Linked DNA regions of Homo sapiens: region 1 is linked to region 2. The links are contacts of gene promoters, found by promoter capture Hi-C in blood cells and fetal thymus (Javierre and others, 2016). All regions are on one chromosome and are shown on one strand. Each heading gives the region's core, a stretch centred on a gene start or on the middle of the fragment in contact. The rest is flanking DNA. Distances are from core to core; before and after follow the strand shown. Region 1 has its middle 77 kb from the start of SLC15A1. Region 2 holds the start of FARP1 (FERM, ARH/RhoGEF and pleckstrin domain protein 1).

The links. Contacts are between HindIII fragments. The CHiCAGO score rates a contact against its expected background, and 5 or more counts as called.
Region 1: a contact is called between a fragment that was not itself captured here and the fragment with the promoter of FARP1 in region 2, in 1 of 17 cell types (M0 macrophages). The highest score is 5.7, in M0 macrophages.

What each region holds. Positions count from the first base shown.
Region 1 is chr13:98,674,385-98,677,308 of GRCh38, forward strand. No RefSeq gene overlaps it. Among named protein-coding and RNA genes, the nearest start is that of SLC15A1, 77 kb to the right of the region's middle. The HindIII fragment of the contact is 2,989 bases long and covers 45-2,924 here.
Region 2 is chr13:98,141,688-98,144,593 of GRCh38, forward strand. FARP1 (FERM, ARH/RhoGEF and pleckstrin domain protein 1) reads left to right here and starts at 1,407. Exons shown (of 27, transcript NM_005766.4): 1 at 1,407-1,805. It overlaps LOC105370328 (a long non-coding RNA gene), which reads right to left and starts at 2,223. Exons shown (of 3, transcript XR_931670.4): 1 at 2,152-2,223. RefSeq lists silencers at 858-907, 1,148-1,457. The HindIII fragment of the contact is 2,199 bases long and covers 870-2,906 here.

The DNA.
Region 1 (2,924 bases), core at 289-2,788, 530 kb after region 2:
CTCTCAGAATTCGAGAGAACAGAGGCACAGGAAAGCCATCATCAAGCTTGGGTTTGTCTCTGTCACTTACAGAGTTGTAGGATCTCGAGCAAGTTATTGAACCACAGTGTGCCTCAGTTTCCTCATCTGTGGCATGAGGATGCTGATATGCTTACCTCCAAGGGCTGCTCAGGGTATTAAATGAATAAAATGCTCAAAGCCCTTAGAACAGGCCATGCTGAAAGTAGCAAATATCTTTCTCTTGTCTCCCACATTTCATCTGTCAGAGAATCCTGTTGGCTCCATCAACCTCCAAAGTATATCCAGAATCCCACCACTTCTCACCACCACACTGCCACCTACCTAGCCAGAGCCACCCTCCTGGAAGGTCACTTGGGAACCTGCATGGACACTTGGCCCCTTTCAGTTTATTCTTTTTTTTTTTTTTTTTTTTTTTGAGACGGAGTCTCGCTCTGTCGCCCAGGCTGGAGTGCAGTGGTGCGATCGTGGCTCACCACTGCTCCGAACTCCTTGGCTCAAGGAATCCTCCTACCTCAGCTTCCTGAGGAGCTGGGATCACAGATGTGTGCCACCATACCTGGCTAATGTTTAAATTTTTTGTAGAGATGCGGTCTCCCTATGTTTCCCAGGCTGGTCTCCAACTTCTAGGCTCCAAGTAATCCACCTGCCTCAGCCTCCCAAGTACCCAAGTGGCTGGGACTACAGACGCGCCACCACGCCCAGATCACTTTATTCTTAAGACAGTAGCTAGAGGGGTCCTGCCACACAGCAGTCACGTGACTTCTAGGCTCAAAACCCTCTGTAGACATCTCAAAAGCCCAGGCTTTCACCCTGGCCTGCCCAACATGAAAGACACACCCTTTCTCTCCGCCCTCAGCAACTCGCTCCCCTCACTCCCCTGATCCTGTGTGCTGACCTCTCGCTCTCCCTCCTTCCCCCTCCCCACATCCTGTATGCCGGCCTCTCGCTCCCCTCACTCCCCTGATCCTGTGTGCTGGGCTCTGGCTCTCCCTCACTCCCCCTGATCCTGTGTGCTGGCCTCTCAAAGACACCAGGCATGCCCCGCCTCCGGCCTTTGCACGGCTGCCCCTCTGCCAGGCACTCTCTGCCCTCACCTTGTTGAAGTGGCTGCTCACATGCCACCATCCCAGGAAGCGCCCTCTGACCATCCTTTTCAGTCACAACCTCTGTCCCTCTGCTCTATTTTTTTTTTTTTAGATCCATGGCACCCAACACCTCCTACTATACCACATCATTTTCCATAATTTCCTTATTCAGCCCATTTGTTGCTTATGGTTCATCGGCTGCTGCGAGAATGCGAGTGTGCACAGAGGCAGGGGTCTGGCTTCTTTTTGTTCTGGGAGGTATCCCACCTGCCTGGCATGTGTCTGCCCTTGGTGCATGCTCGGTAAGCATGGGTAGAACAACTAGCACAGGGCAAGGGCTCACCCAGGGGCCTTTCTTGGCACCACAAGGGCCTTACCCCAACCCTGGGAAGCGGGCACTGTCTTTATTTTACAAATGGTGACGTTGACGCCTCCAGCGGCCTGCCCAAGCTCACAGCTCAAGGAAGGGAAGAACCAGGAGCATGATGTGTTTCCACCCTCGCCCTGCAGTCTCGCTGCAGCCCCACCCTCCCGAAAGCACGCGTTCACCCAGGCTGCAGGGTCTCTCCCTGTGTCCGCTTCTTGCCAGCACCTGCCTGCTGCCCGACCCCTCCCGCCTGCAGGCAATTTGCCCGTCTCCACTTGCCAGAGGCACCTCCCAGGCCACACCACAGAAAGCCTGCACACTCCGATTTACCTCCATGTCCCGTGTTGGTCACTGCTGTGGTTTGGGAGCCACCGCCCTCTGCTACTGACTTGGTGCCTTCCTGGACCTCCCTAGTGGGCTCATCTGTTTCATCTTTCTGTACACTCATTAGGGAAGATGGGCACACACACACAAGCACCCACGCACGCACGCACGCACGCACACTCTCTCGCTCCTGCTGTAGGTCCTTAGCAACTAACGACTAGTTGTGCCTGTTAGTAGCTGGGTGGGACTTATTCCAGATCCTTTCCAGGTTTGTAAATCAAATCAAGGACCTGAGTCAGACTCCGGACTTACTGAAGTTCAACCTTCCTGAAGACGAAAACAGGCTGAGCAGCATGGATGGCAAGGCCGTCTCTGCCCCAAGGCACCAGCTGGCGGACAGGATCTCGGTTCCATCTACCAGCCACTGCAAAGCAGGGACATGTGTGTCAACCGGGCCCTGGGACAGGTGGTCTGGGCCTCCCCTCTCTTCCCTGTGGTGATGGGGACAGGGAACTTTGTAGGAGAAACCTACGAAATGGAAACTGTGAAGGGAAATGCTTTTTTTTTTTTTTTTTTTTTAATGAGATGGAGTTTCACTCTTGTTGACCAGCCTGGAGGGCAGTGGGGCGATCTCGGCTCACTGTAACCTCCACCTCCTGGGTTCAAGTGATTCTCTTGCCCCAGCCTCCTGAGTATCTGGGATTACAGGTGCCTGCCACCATGCCTGGCTAATTTTTGTATTTTTAGTAGAGATGGGGTTTTGCCATGTTGGCCAGGCTGGTCTCGAACTCCTGGCCTTGGGTGATCAGCCCACCTTGGCCTCCCAAAGCGCTGGGACTACAGGCATGGGCCACCGTGTCCAGCTGGGAAATGCTTTCCTTGACTCAGTGCTAGGAGTAGGATGGCCCCAAGCACAAAGGGCTGCTTAGTCAATCCTCTGACTGCCAGAAGGTACAAAGCTCTTAGAGCCTGACATGGTTTGGATGTGTGTCCCCTCCAAATCTCAGGTTAACTGTGATCCCCAGTGCTGGAGGTGGGGCCCAGTGGGAGGTGTTTGGGTCATGGGGGTGGGTCCCTCCTGAATGATTTTGTGCCATCCCCTTGGTGATGAGTTGTCGCTCCGTTAG
Region 2 (2,906 bases), core at 157-2,656:
AGCCTGACAGTCCTTTATCCCTGCAGGCGATTCAGATGCTTGCTAAGGTTTCATTAGGTAGGTCGGGGATGCGGCCCAAGAATGTTCATTTCTTGACGTTTCCAGGGGCTGCTGGTGGTGGTCGTGGTCTGAGAACCACACTTAGAGAATCACGAGCAGAAAAAAATCTGATCTGTGACACACAGCTGGTTGGGCTGACAGAGCAAAGCCTCAAACCCACCATTTCTTCTCTTCAACCACAGACCACCAAATCTGCAAGTATTACATCTCTGCTCCTCCCCAGGAGCTGCCCACAAGCACCCCCTACTTCCAAGACCCCTGTTCTTGTCTCAACCCGCCCTTCTATCAGGGTCCCTACACTCCACTTCTGCCCAGCTCCTGTCCAGCTGTGAGTTCACTTGAGGCCTCTCCCGTGAAATCTGCCCTCTCGGTCTGAGGTCAGGGAACTCCTGTAAGACGCAAAAGGCCCACGGTTCTGAGCCAGTGGCCTCCGAAGGCCGGAATCCGCTAGCCCCGGGTCTGGCAGAACGTCACTTGCTGCGCCCTAGGCCTCTTCCCGCCACGCTTAGAGAGAGGGACTGGAGGCTCAGAAGGGGGAAGAGAAGGTAACGCGGCAGCTGCTGGGTGGGGACGGTGACTGTGCCCCTAGATCGCTGCCTCCTGGGTCCTGAATCTTGCTCCCCGCTCCGTAGAGTTCCCGAAACCCCGAAGGCTCTCAAGCACCGCAAGCCACTCCTAACCTCCCCCACGCCATTCCCCAAGGGCACTGTCCCCCGAGGCTGGGCGGGCGGGAACTGTCATGGGATTCGCTCGGGCGGAGGGCGCTGGGCCAGGACGTGGGCGGGCGCGGGGTGGCCGCCGCTCCCCCAAGCTTAAGTCCCGCGCAGCCCGGGGTGGTGCCGGAAGCCCGTGCCTGTGGCTCCGGGGGAGGGGAGGGCTCGGTGGGTCCCTGAAGACTGTCCTCCCCGCGCGACGTCGCAGGCGAAGCAGCCCCAGGCAGGACCTCAAAAAGCGACCTGCAGAGTCCGAGCCCCTGACCGCCCGCCTGCCGCTCCCGGCTTCGCCGTGCACACGTCTCCCGCTCTCCCCGGTTCGTTTTTCGCCACAGCTGCTGGATTCGCGTCTCGCCAGTGGCGCTCCCCGCGCTGCATTAGGTAGCGCCGCGCGGAGCCCGGCCCTGGCCGGAAGCCCAAGAGAGGCGCAGATCCCCGGCGGCGCGCTGGGCTCGGGAGGCCCCTGGGCGCACCTGCCCGGGCGGAGCGGAGCGGGGCGGGGCGGGCGCAGGGCGCGGGCCCGGACGCTGGAGGGGGCTGTGGCTCTCCCGCGTCCCCGCTGCTCGGGCTGCGCGGCGCCCGCCTCCCCCCGCCGAGGGGCCGGCCCAGACCCGGGGAGGGGCGGTGGCCACTGCACTTCCCGCTCGCCGGCCTCAGAGGCGGCGGGTCCGGCGCGGGCGCAGCGGTGCGGGCGCTCGGCTGGGGCGCGGGGCGGGGACGCGGCCGCTGCCCGCTTTGCGCCGCTCCTCCCTGCGCGAGTAGCGCTGGCCCCGGCGTCGAGGCGGCCATGGCGACCCGGAGCCCGCTCCCCACCCACCCCGCCTGCTCCGCCCTCCCCTCCGCCCCGCGCCACCTTTGATGGCTCGGACCTCAGCCGGCCACCGCCAGCCCTGCTCGCGCGCCCGCGCCGCCGCCGCCCGCGGGTATTAATAGCCGGCGCCGCCGCGCCCTCGGCCGCCGGGGGCTTGGGAGCCGCCGATCCCGGAGCCCGAGCCGGGAGAGGGAGCCGCCGCAGCCGCCGGCGCTGTGGAGGTAGGAGGCGCGCGGTGAACAATGACCGCGGCGGGAGGGCGGGGGCCGGCGGGGTCCGGGCCGCGGGCGGCAACTTGTGCGAGTCCAGGCTCCCGCAGCGCACGGCCGCGGCTGCGGGCGAAGGTGGGCGCGTGGTCCCCGAGGTCCTGCCCTGCGCAGTCGGGCGGCGGGTCGGGCCCGGGCAGCCCCGGCCACCATCGCAGGAGCTCGGGGGCCTCGGGGCTCCGGGCTGCCCCCTGCGCCCCTCTCCCCTCACCTCCGCCGACGTCGGGCTGCGGGGCTCCGCGCCGGTCCCCGCTCGCCTCCCCCGACCCCGGCGCCCTTCCCCCGTTTCCTTCCGTCCTACCCGCCCGCTGACAGCGCTGGACGCCGCTTCCGGACCTCGGGCCGCAATCTCGGCCCCTGAGGCCGGTTGCGGGCCGGGGAGGTGGCCGCTGGCGCGGATGCCGCCGGGTGCCCGCCGCTCGCCCACGCGCGGCGCGAGGGTTCCCGGCGGGTGACAAAGAGGAACACACCCTCTGCCCAAGTTAGATTTGTGTCTCTCTTTACTGTCTGCCTTTATGCAGGGCAAAGTTTTTTTTATTTTTTATTTTTTAAAGCAAAGGACAGATTGCTTTGCGGCGAGTATTTCCAAACAACTTCTGATTGTGGTTTTACGATTCAAGTTCCGGAAACTTTAGCTGTGTGATCCGGCTGGACCCCGGAGACTCTGTGTGTGTGTGTGTGTGTGTGTGTTTTATTTGAGGGGGGGAAATACGAATTCCCTGTAATGAGTCTGGATCTCGTTTGTGGCAGCTGGAGGCCAGCGGCTGTTGGGGATCGAGTAGGGTTCCCCAGAAAGGAGGGAGCTGAGGCTCACAAAGAAGCGAGGCCCTGGTATCTGATCAGTTCGTGGAGACGTGGGAGAGCCTGCTTGTCATCTGGAACAGTTTAGCAGCCTCGGCCTCCCTGTCTCTCCCAGCCCTGGGGAGTACCGGTGGCCTCTGGCCGTTTCATTATATTGTTGTTAAGGCTCTTCTCCTTGTCAGTTTACCAGGTTTGACCGCCCAGCCCTGGTCTCTGCGTGGAAACCCCCGGGGGCCCCTCTCCTTCCAGTAGGCA